3 separate regions of the Homo sapiens genome follow, and regions 1 and 2 are each linked to region 3. The links are contacts of gene promoters, found by promoter capture Hi-C in human tissues and cell types (Jung and others, 2019). All regions are on one chromosome and are shown on one strand. Each heading gives the region's core, a stretch centred on a gene start or on the middle of the fragment in contact. The rest is flanking DNA. Distances are from core to core; before and after follow the strand shown.

What was found. Contacts are between HindIII fragments. The study calls those that stand out against the background at their distance.
Region 1: a contact is called between a fragment that was not itself captured here and the fragment with the promoter of SLITRK5 in region 3, in 3 of the 25 tissues and cell types used here (dorsolateral prefrontal cortex, hippocampus and lymphoblastoid cells).
Region 2: a fragment that was not itself captured here is called in contact with the fragment with the promoter of SLITRK5 in region 3 in 4 of the 25 tissues and cell types used here (dorsolateral prefrontal cortex, heart left ventricle, mesenchymal stem cells and 1 more).

The regions. Positions count from the first base shown.
Region 1 is chr13:87,600,065-87,603,749 of GRCh38, reverse strand. The region is part of intron 1 of MIR4500HG (MIR4500 host gene); the gene reads left to right. Among named protein-coding and RNA genes, the nearest start is that of MIR4500, 17 kb to the left of the region's middle. The HindIII fragment of the contact is 6,087 bases long and covers 1-3,685 here.
Region 2 is chr13:87,564,751-87,568,899 of GRCh38, reverse strand. All of the region lies in intron 1 of MIR4500HG (MIR4500 host gene), which reads left to right. Among named protein-coding and RNA genes, the nearest start is that of MIR4500, 52 kb to the left of the region's middle. The HindIII fragment of the contact is 4,943 bases long and covers 267-4,149 here.
Region 3 is chr13:87,669,163-87,672,758 of GRCh38, reverse strand. It overlaps SLITRK5 (SLIT and NTRK like family member 5), which reads right to left and starts at 1,388. Exons shown (of 2, transcript NM_001384609.1): 1 at 550-1,388. LOC124900338 (formin-like protein 5) reads left to right here and starts at 392. Exons shown (of 2, transcript XM_047430855.1): 1 at 392-1,923. The coding sequence starts at 454. The coding sequence ends at 978. It overlaps MIR4500HG (MIR4500 host gene), which reads left to right and starts at 1,796. Exons shown (of 6, transcript NR_033829.1): 1 at 1,796-1,923. RefSeq lists an enhancer at 1,160-1,661. The HindIII fragment of the contact is 26,915 bases long and covers 1-3,596 here.

The DNA of each region.
Region 1 (3,685 bases), core at 848-3,347, 70 kb after region 3:
TTCCTGAGAAAGTAAGAGGAGTACAGGGACGGAGAATTGCAAGAGATGCAAGTCAAGTATATATATATATATATATGTAGCTTCAAAGAAATAACACTGCTTTTATGATGATGTAAATGTTGATGGAGATGAACAAAATAAATAAATTCTGAAGACAACCTAAGTGTGTGTGTCTGTGTGTGTATATATTTATATATATATATAAATATATACACACACAATATATATACACACACACACACACACACACACACACACATAGGTATCAAAAATGTGAAGATCTTAACAACACCCCAAATTAAAGATAATTTTACATGCAAAGAAGTGTCCATTACAAAAAACACAAGAATCAATGGAATCAAGAAGGATATTCTTATAAAACCTTAGGTAAGATAAATAATAGTTGATAAGTTTTACTACATTACAGTTACAAAATTGTTTATTGAAAGATTCAGCTGATAAAATTAAAAGCTACAATTTATAAAACATATTGGCAACCCATATATCTGAAAGATATCCAAAATATGCAAACTACTTCTATAAATTAATACCCAAAATAGAACTAAATACTTAAGAAGAAATTTGAAAGAGGAGGAATAAAAGTAGTGATTGAACATATGAATAAATGAAATCAAGCCTCGTTACTCATAGGGAAATATAAATTAAGACCTTCATGAAAAATTATTTCCTAATTATCCCAGTGTCAAAATTTAGAACATCTGATTATATCAAGTGCTGGAAAGCCTACATATCAATTTTTACTTTCATACATGACTGGAAAGAGCATGTATCAGTGCAACCATTATTTTAAAATGTTTTGAAATTACTTCATTTCTCCATTATTAAATTTTTTGTTACACTTTAATTATCAGTCTTTCAACGGTTTCCTGGAAATTCCGAAATGTATTTGTAACAATATACTCTATCTAAAATTATAAATTTTACTATGTCCCAGACAATAAATGTAGAATGGACAAATCATATTTACTCCAGCCTTTTTAGATTGTTTTCATATGTTAAAATCCTAACAATTCATGTTATAAAACTCACAAACATTGTTACTGTTGTTACTTCAAACATTTTCACTCCCATGCTCACATACCTGCATGCACGCATACACATTTATGTTTTTTTCTCTGCTGTTTATTTCTAATTAGAATTCTAACTGGTATCATTTCCTTCAGAGTGAAGAACTTTATTTAGTTGTTCTTGTAATGCAGGTGTGCTGGTGATGATTTCTTTTAGCTTTTTTTTTTTTTTTGAGGTACAGGTTGTTTTGCCTTAATTGAAGATTTCTTTCATCCAGTGTAACAGTCTAGATTGACAGGGTGTTTTTCTGTTATTGTTCTTGTTTTTATCCATTTCAGTAATTTTAAAATGGGGTAAAAATCTATAAAATATCTCAAGGTTCTGTCATTTGGAATATAAAAATCTATATTTGGATGAACAGGAGATTATAGGATTCCAAATATATTTAATTAAATGATGGCTCAAATACTGAAACCTGCTGAGTAGATAGTTGTTCTTTCCTTGTTGGTCCTCAATAGAAAACCGGATGTTGTTGTTGTTGTTGTTCTTTTTGCTACTTTATAAACTGTATGATCTTTAACTGTGTTGCAATTAATATTTTATATTGTTTCATGTTTCATTTTATAGAGCTCTGTATCATAAATTCTTTCTTAATAATAATATTATTGAATGTAAGATTTAAACTTTTAAAACAATTATTATATAGCATGGCAGGCAGAATAATTTCTTCTCAAAAAAAAAGTCCCCTTATTAATACCTGGAGTTTGTGAATATGTTTATTTATATGGCAAATGAGGCTTCACAGATGAGATCAAAGCACAGATTGAGATGAAGAGATTATCCTGGATCATTAGGCTGGAGCTACTGTAACCACCAGGGATTCAATAAATGAAAGACAGAGTCAGGAGGATCAGAGTCAGCGAGATTTGAAGATGATGCTTCTCTGCTGGCTTTAAGGATGTAGGAAGGGGCCTTGAACTAAGAAATTCAAGAGAGGCCTGTAGAAGATGGAAACTATGAAAGAGTGGATTCTCCAGTAAAACCTCTAAAAGAAATGCAGACCTGTCAACATCTGCACTTCAGCCCAGTGAAACCCATTTCAGACTTTATACCTCCCAAATTGTGGAATAATGACTTTATTTCATTTTAATCCACTAAATTTGCACATATTAATCTTTTTGAGCTCTGGTGTGGTGAGCATATAAGAAGGGAATGTGAAAAGAGAGTGGAAAAGAGACTTTCAGGGAGGTTTGCAAAAACAGTATTAGGATTGCCTTGACTTTCTCTTCACTGAGCATTAGCATTTTATCCAATTTGTCCACAAAAAGGGAATATATATACACACATATACACATATACACACAAATATATGTGTATATATATACACACACACATAATTTGTTTTTTAAAAAGAACATATTTTTTAAAAAAGGTTGAATATATATGTATATATGTGTGTTATTCTCTCTATATACATATACGTATAATTATTTTTTAAATAGCACATATAATTCATTTTTTAAAAAAGTTTAAATATATGTCTGTGTGTGTGTCTGTGTGTGCATGCGTTCATGCGTGTGTATAGGGTTGACCCTTGAACGTGTGGGTTTGAACTGCACGGGTTCTCTTATACTGAGATTTTCTCTCTCTTCGGCTACAGCTCTGATATAGCAAGACCAAACCATCATCTTTCTCCTCCTTCTCAACTCAACGTGAAGACAACAAGAATGAAGACTTTTGATGATCCACTTCCACTTAATGACTAGTACATATATTTTCTCATCCTTATGATTTTCTGAACCCCATTTTCCCCTAGCTTACTTATGCTGTATTGTAAGAATATAGCATATAATACACATGACATACAAAATATGTGTTAACAGAATGTTTATGTTGTCAGGTCAGCTGTAGGCTATTAGAAGTTAAGCTTTGCGGCAGCCTAAGTTATCCATGAATTTTTGACTTCATGGAGGTTGATACCCTTACCTCCAACATTGTTCAAGTATCAACTGTATGCAATACATATACCCCCCTCACCCTTCCAAAACTCACATTCTGCAAAATTGGCAGGGTGTATGGGCAGGCTGGAAACTTATACTGGATTTCTATGTTGCAATCCTGAGGCAGTTTCTTTTTTTTCCAGGAAACCTCAAATGTTTTTGCTCGTAACTTCTTCATCTTATTGGAACAGGCCCACTCAAATTATTGAAGTTAATTCAAATTTTTGAAAAGTTTAAATTTTATTTATGACTTATTTTAAAAATTGTTTGATAACTAAAAAAAGTATTTGTGGTGTAAAACATGATGTTTTGAAGTATATATACAATATGGGATGGTTAAATATAGCTAAATAATAAATGCTTTATCTCACATAGTTATTATTTTCACCATAAGAACATATAACATCCACCCTCTTTACATTTTCAAGAATACAATATATTAACTTTTATTATAGTCACCTTGCTGTACAACAGACTCCTTGAAATTGATTTTTCCCGTCTAACTATATTTACATATACTTTGGCCAATGTCTCCCCAAATCCCAAATCCTCCTAACCACCCCAGTTTCTAGTAATCACCATTTTGCTTTTTACCTCTATGTGATTAATGATTAATGATTCTAGATGCCATATTAGTCAGAGTTCTCCAGAGGGAC
Region 2 (4,149 bases), core at 1,489-3,988, 110 kb after region 3:
TTACTGACTTCTAGAAGATTTTGTATATGCGGCTTTATAATACCTATTTGCATGCTGTATTTAGAAATGCTAAGATGACTTTTTCCTGCTATAGCATCAAGTCTGAATAGTTTTGGTTCTCAGTTTTATAGATTACTTGACATAAATTTACTTCTCAAAATTTATTTTACAATTCCCTATAATTTTTTTGATTTGGTCAGAAGAGAGCAATGAACAACTAATGTTTGTAAAATGCCAAGTATATTCTAGCTATACGAGACACTAAAGAAAACCATAATTGAAAGATTTTAGCTGGGCGTGGTGACTCACGCCTGTAATCCCAGAACTTTGGGAGGCCGAGGCGGGCGGATCACGAGGTCAGGAGATCGAGACCATCCTGGCTAACACGGTGAAACCCCGTCTCCACTAAAAAATACAAAAAATTAGCGGGGCGTGGTGGCAGGCAGCTGTAGTCCCAGCTACTCGGGAGGCTGAGGCAAGAGAATGGCGTGAACCTGGGAGGCGGAGCTTGCAGTGAGCCGAGATCGCGCCACTGCACTCCAGCCTGGGCGACAGAGTGAGACTCCGTCTCATAAAAAAAAAAAAAAAAAAAAAAAGATTTTAAAAAGAGAACATAGTACATGGTATAGTCCCTTCACAGATGTCTTTGAATAAGCTGATATGGTGATATGACATGTTTTACAAGAAGTAGGAAAACTTATCCTGAAAGTGAAATCAGGTGGCAAATGTTGGCACAGTTAGTTAACTTGTTATGCTTCCTGTAACATGGATGAATGATTTAGAGACATGGGTAAGCAATACAGGCACATTTTCTCTTATTTAGCTTTCATATCTTTAAAATTGAAGACTGAAATAATATTCATAAGCCTACAACCTGAGACTGAGCTAACATTGAAGAAATAGGCCCAAAAGAGAACTCTTGGTCATGTACAAGATCAGTGCTCCAGTTCCATTTGGAGAAGTTGTTAGAAGCTTTCCATAGAAGCTGGTGCATTTCAGGAATTTAATGTGCATTAATGATTTAATGAGGGTGGTAATGAAGTTTTTCATTCTTGTCAAGGAAAAAACTAGAAGGAAAAAGAAATGTCAATAGCTTTTTATCTTTTTACCTCCCAATAATTGGTATATTGTTTTTGGTATTTCCTTTTAAGCTCATTTCCGGATAAAACTAAATAACAAATATGTGTGTGATGTGCACTGAGTAGGTGTACATGTGTTTAATAGAATGTTTTTCTTCACTGTTGAAAGTGGTGTTTGAGTCTCCTATTATATTGTTGTTTATTTCTTCCTTTAGTTCTGCCAATGTTTGTATTATATTCTTAGGTGTTATAATGTTGGGTCCAAATATATTTTTTAATTGTTACATGTTCCTGGTGAATCAGCCCTTTTTTCATTATATACTTCCTTATTTGTCTTTTGTGACAGCTTTTTACTTAAAGTCTATTTTGTCTGATACAGTAATAGCCACTTCTGCTCTTTTTTTTAGTTACCATTTGCATGGACTGTCTTTTTTAATCCCTTTGCTTTCAGTCTATGAGTATCTTTAAACCTAAGAGGATTTTTTTGTAGACAACATTACATAGTTGTTTTTTTTTCTTTTATATTCTCATTCTGACATTATTTTTTGTCTTTCGATTGAGGAGTTTAATCTCTTCACATTTAAAGTAACTATTGATAAGGAAAGATTTACTATTGCCATTTTGTTAATAGTTTTATGTTAATCTTGTAGTTGGCCATCTTTTCCTTTCTTGCTGTTTTCCTTTGTATTGGCTGATGTTTTATACTGATATGCTTTGATGTCTTTCTTTTTTATTTTGTATATCTTCTATACATATTTTATTTCTCGTTATCATGAAACTCAAAATATATTTATAAAAGCCTATTTTAAGCTGATAACAACTTAAGATTCATCACATACCGAAGACAGTCTTACTTATCTTCCTCACCCTACTTTACACTATTTTTGTAGTTTCCATCTATTTATTTTGTATATGTAGTATCATATTTATTGTTAAAGTTTTAAAAAAATTTGTCTTTTAACTTTTGTACAATGATTAAAAGTAATTTACCATTATATTATTCTATATACAGAACCTATACATTTGTCTTTACTAATGAATATTAGTAAGAAATACGATACTCATTTAAAAAGTAAATATATAGAAAATATTTTATGCTACCACCTTGCCGTATATCATCCTTTCATTTTAACATGAAAAAATCCCTTTAGTATTTCTTGTAAGGCATGTCTAGTGATAATCAACTTTCTTCACTTTTGTTTGTCTGGCAAATACTTTTTCTCTCCTTCATTTTCAAAAGACAGTTTTGCCTGATATAGTATTATTGATTAGCAGTTTTACGTTTTCTGTCAGCACTTCAAATACATAATCTATTCCTTTCTAGTGTGAAATATTCTTTCTGAGAAATCTGTTGATAGTCTTACAGAGATTACTTGGTGCATGACAAATCATTTCTTTCTTGCTGCTTTAAAATTCATCTTTTGACTTTTGACAATTTGATTATAATGTATCTTTATGTGCATTTATTTGGGTTCATTTGATTTTGCAATTTTTAGGTCTAGATGTCTATTTTCTTCTCCAGATTTGGGAAGTTTTCAGTCATTATTTATTTAAATTATCTGTCTGTTTCTTTCTTGCTTCCTTCTCCTGAAAATCCTATAATGTTAACTTGATCATGCCCCATAAGTTACTTAAGTTTTCTTCTTTTTAATTTTTTTTTTACCTGTTGCTCTTTTGACCGAATAATTTCAAATGACCTAGCTTTGTGTTCACTGATCCTTTATTTGCTTGATATAATCTGCTCTTGAATCTTTCAGGTGATTTTTGTAGTTCATTTATTGTATTCTTCACCTCTATTATTTGTTTGCTCCTTTATTTGTTTATTATTATTATTATTATTGTTTGGAGACAGAGTATCACTCTGGTACCCAGGCTGAAATTCAGTGACAAGATCTCAGTTCACTGTGAGCTTTGCCTCCTGGTTTCAAGCAATTCTCCTGCCTCAGCCTCCTGAGTACATGGAATCACAGATGTGCACCACCAAGCCCAGGTAATTTTTGTATTTTTAGTAGATACTGGGTTTCACTATTATAGCCAGGCTGATCTTGAACTCGATGTTGGCAATGCTGGTCTGGCCTCAAGTGACCAGCCTACTGTGGTCTTCCAAAGCAATGGTATTGCATGTCTGAGCCACCGCACTGGCCCTGCTTGTTCCTTTAAAAAAAATGTTTTCTATCTCTTTGTTGAAATTCTGAATTTGTTCATGTATTGTTTTCCTGACATCACTGAGCGTCTTTATTACTGTTAATTTGAATTCTTTGCCAGGTAAATTGTACATCTCCATTTCATTGGGGTTGGTGTCAGGAGATTTACCTTGCTTTTTTACTCGAAGCATATTAGCCTATTTCTTCATCTTCATTGATTTTTTGTGTTGGTGTCTCTACATTAGACAAAGAAGCCACATATCCCAATCTTGATGGACTGGTCTTGTATAGGTGAAGACTCCTATCAATCAGCCCAGCCAGAGATTCTGAGGGCCTCTCAAATCTCTGTCCTACTCCAATCCCATTTCGTTGTTCTTTGCAGGCCCTAGGTGTACAGGGTAAGCTAGGTCCTATCTGTACAATGGGATAGTAAGATAAAAGCAAGTTCCTTAGGCAGCTACCAGAAATTTTGGATCATTGGATGCACCATTCAACTCTTCACTTGCCCAGAGAGAAGCTGAGAGCTGGGTTTTTTTTTTATTCTCTTTGTGCTGATCCTAGGGGGAGAAGTTGTGGTGAATGATAGCTCACACCTCATTTCTGTTCTACCCCAGGCAGCTAGTTAATGCCAGATTCATCAGTACTCTTTGATAGGCAGGATATAAGCCAGTTCTTTGGGTCCCTCTGGAGGAGCTGGGGCATTGGACACATGGACCTACTCTCCTCCCCAGGGGAGAAGCTGGAAGCTAGGAATATTCTTCCATTTACTCTGTGCTGAGCTGGGAGGAAGAGCTATGGTGACTGCCAGCACAAGCCACCATCTATTTTTTCTTCAATGTGGCTTGACTGTGCTGGTCTCATCAGCATTCCAAGCCTCACAAAACAAAAGCCAGTCCTCCAGGAAGCTTCCTGCAAGAATCTATGGC
Region 3 (3,596 bases), core at 139-2,638:
CCTCTTTGGGGTATGCACTAGGTTTCTCAAGCCCAGGCAGGGCGAGGAGACTGCGAGCAGCGCAGTCCCAGAGGCTGGAGGAAAGAGGCGCCCGGACGCCTCCAGCCTGGGGCCGCCGCCGCGGTGGCGACCGCGGGTTCCGGGGCTCCCCAAAAGGCTCTCCCCGGTGCTCTCCGCGGTAGTCGGAGCGGGCAGCAGGGTTGGGGGGTGGAGAGCGGGGGGCGTTCTGCAGCGGCGGGATAGGGAGGCGGCGGGAGGGGGCGGCGGAGGTCCGGCTGGAGAGGCGCCTCGCGGTAGGGGCCGGGAGCCGGAGCCGGGCGGGGCGGGGAGGGGGAGCTGCTGGGAGGGGAGGCACGGAGCGGGAGGAGGGGGACGCGGAGAAGACTGCCTGGCCCCGCCGGCCCCGCCAACGTGACGGTCAGCCCCGCCGAGCGCTCGCACCCGCTCACACTCATGATCACTCGCACACTCGCTCCAATACGTGTTAAGGCGCGATCGCGGGGTCCCTGGCAGCCTTCGCTGCACCCTCCCCCCCACAGGGGTACTCACAGTTGCCATCTGCATAGGGGGCAACTTTCTCCGACCCAGCTGTGGCCGCCGCCCCCTCCAGCCTCCTCTGGCTCCTCGCACCCTCCGGCCTGGGTTCGCGCCGGCCGGCCCTCCCCTCCCCCCTCGGCTCTCCTCCTCGCCGTCTTCACCACATTCCCCCCTGGTCAGTGGCGCACGCCGGGGGACGAGCCAGAGGGAGCGGGTCGCGGGGGTGTGCATGCATCTCCCGCCTTCTTCTTGCAGCGCACACTGTACATGGTAGTGAGGGGGCGAGCAAAGGTGGCACCGGCCCCTCGGCTGCTCCAGCGAAGGCGGCGGCTGCAGCTCCTGCGCTGTCCTCCGCCCCCCAGCGCAGCGGCGACCACCGCGCTGGGATCCCGCCGACGCTGTCTCCGCGCCGAGCCCGCCGCCGCCGCGGCCCCTAATTAGTATTTGAGAGGCTCTTGCATCCCTTTGGCAGTTTCATCCTCACGGTGTTTGCAGGGTTTTTTTCTGTATCCCTTCCCCAGATGCGGCGCACAATCGTCATTAGTTGGAACTCTCTATCACCGACATCCTTTGGGGTTTCTGGGGGAAGGGGGGGGCGGGCAGCAACCGCGTCGTTCTATGCCTGTGGCTTGTCCTGGCAGCCCGGTGGCTCTAAAAAAAACTCCGAGAAAGTTGCGTCTTCCTCCCGGGCGCCGAGGAGGTGGCAACGCGGTAAGCAACACCGGGTCTCTGAGACAGCTGCTCCGGAGCGGGTGCAGGGCCCAGTCCAGTGCACTTGTTTATTGTCGCGCCTCTGGTGCGAGCCAAGCTGCAGCAGACATGATGGGCCCGGGGCGAAGCGGGCGCTCGGTGGCCGATAGATGGCAGCCGAGGGCGAAGGCGTCCCTGGGCTAGGGCGGCGCAACCGGGGCCCCCTTGGATGTCACATTCGTAGGAAGAGAGAGAAGTCTTGGACCATGTGTGTAATTCGAGCGTGGGACTGTGCAATTCTCGGATTGGGAAAGGGAGGAGTGGAAATAACCCCGGCAGTGCCAGGCTTGCTGGTGGTCAGGAACAGATGATTCCAGCCCTGTGCTGATCGCCTGCCTTCCTCCTGCCATTCAGAATGCTGCTGTCTCGTGTACTTACTGTTAAGGATCCTGGAAAAGGGAGTGGTTCCTCCTAGCTGCAAACAAGGGCGCTACTTTTCTTTTCTCTTTAATAGAATTACGTTTTATAGGTGTGTCTAGGCAACACAAGGGAATGTGAAAGACTTTCAGAGGGAATGTTTGTGAATACATCTGGTGTGTACTAAAAAGCTGGAAAACCCCTAAGTAAATGCAATATCGATAGAAAGCGAGTTTCTTGAAGAGTCATCTGCTAAACTCCACTAGAGTCATCTCTACAGTAAGTATTCTTGGGTCTTTCCATGAAACCAGACACTTCCATCCCCAAAAAGGGGTCTTTACTTTCATAAGACATGTTTTCAATATTTGTAATATTAGACCTGCCGTTCATCCCGGGTATAAGAGAAAAGTTGATAATAGTAAGTGACCCAGTGCAGGCTGAGTGCACATGTGCCTGTTCCTTTGATAACTATGTAGTTAGTTTCTCCATGTAAATATATTTTACCCACTTTATTTTGCAATTAATTACGTCTTAATTATTATTGATATTGTTTTATTCTTAGTAATATTTGGGATAATACTGTGTTATAATCTGGTTAATCATATGTTTAATATTGATATAGAGTCTGATAATATGTCTATGTTCTGAGATGTATATATATCTCAGGTGATGAACATTGCAGTCTCCTGAGGTACTGCAATCTTTTTTGAACTTTCCCCTGCGTATGTTGTGTGAATATATATATTTTTACTTTATACCATAAAAACTTTATTTGGAAGCAATTTTGTTTAAGTATGGGTTATATTCAAGGGAGAGGAAGGAAAGAAGTAATATGTAATTTCAGACAATAAAAACAAAATCTTGTAATGAACGTTTCATTAAATTTAGAAGCATTTGACCTAGGAATGATAGCCACTAGCTGTAGATACATTGCATCAACAAATATAACTTACACGTCATCCACAAAAGGCTTATTTCTGTATTTTTTATTCAGTCATTAACTTTTAACATTATATAAACATTTCAGAAAATTTATTTTAAGTTTAAAATTACTTTTATATTTTCAAAATGAAATGAAATATTTAAATTTAAAATTATATAGGAATTACAGCCAGAAGCCTTTGGAATATAAATATTGAGTCCTATCAGAAACATAATTTTCAATATCGATTAACTTTGTAGAAGTTCTTAAAGGTCCTAAATTGTCTTAATCGATTATTGATTTTTTCAAAATAGCTGAAATAAAGCTGTTATATTTTATCACTGTTCTAAATCTTTATAATTTCATTCAATAGCAAAGTTTAATTCATGGTTTTGTATTATTTTTATTTTAAATATTTATTGTTCTAATTAAAGGAAATATTATTCAACTAAGAAGTATTAAATATGTTTGGAATTAGTTTAGGTTACAGTTTTGTTAGAAACACTTATGCTAATAATCTAGTTTACCTCTTGTGGTTCAAATAAGTAAATGATGAAAACTTTCTGCCATTAACTCAACATTAAGGATGGTCCCGGAAGCCACCATTACCTTTTGCCACTAGGTGTCTCTATAAGATGCTCTGCAAGAGAATGAAATTTTAGAAAATACTGTGACTTGAACAGTTCAGAACAGAAAAACACAAGAGGGAAAACATCATAGATATAAGGAAAAGCCTCAGTTATTAATCTGTTTCTTTATTTGCATTGAATGTTGACTATTGCTTAGAAAATATATAAGTGAATTACATAAGAGTGATCAAATATGAGCCAAAACTTTTACCCACATGAACAAATGTATCTATGTTTTAGTCTATACTAAGCAACACATGGTCATATGTGTATACATGCTTTCAGACAGCACTCAGATGCATGCACTTAATTACATAGATACATTTGGCCATTGTAAAATTAAATGATTGATCAAATATATCTCCCCAGAATTAAGTCTATTAATATTAAACATTATTTGA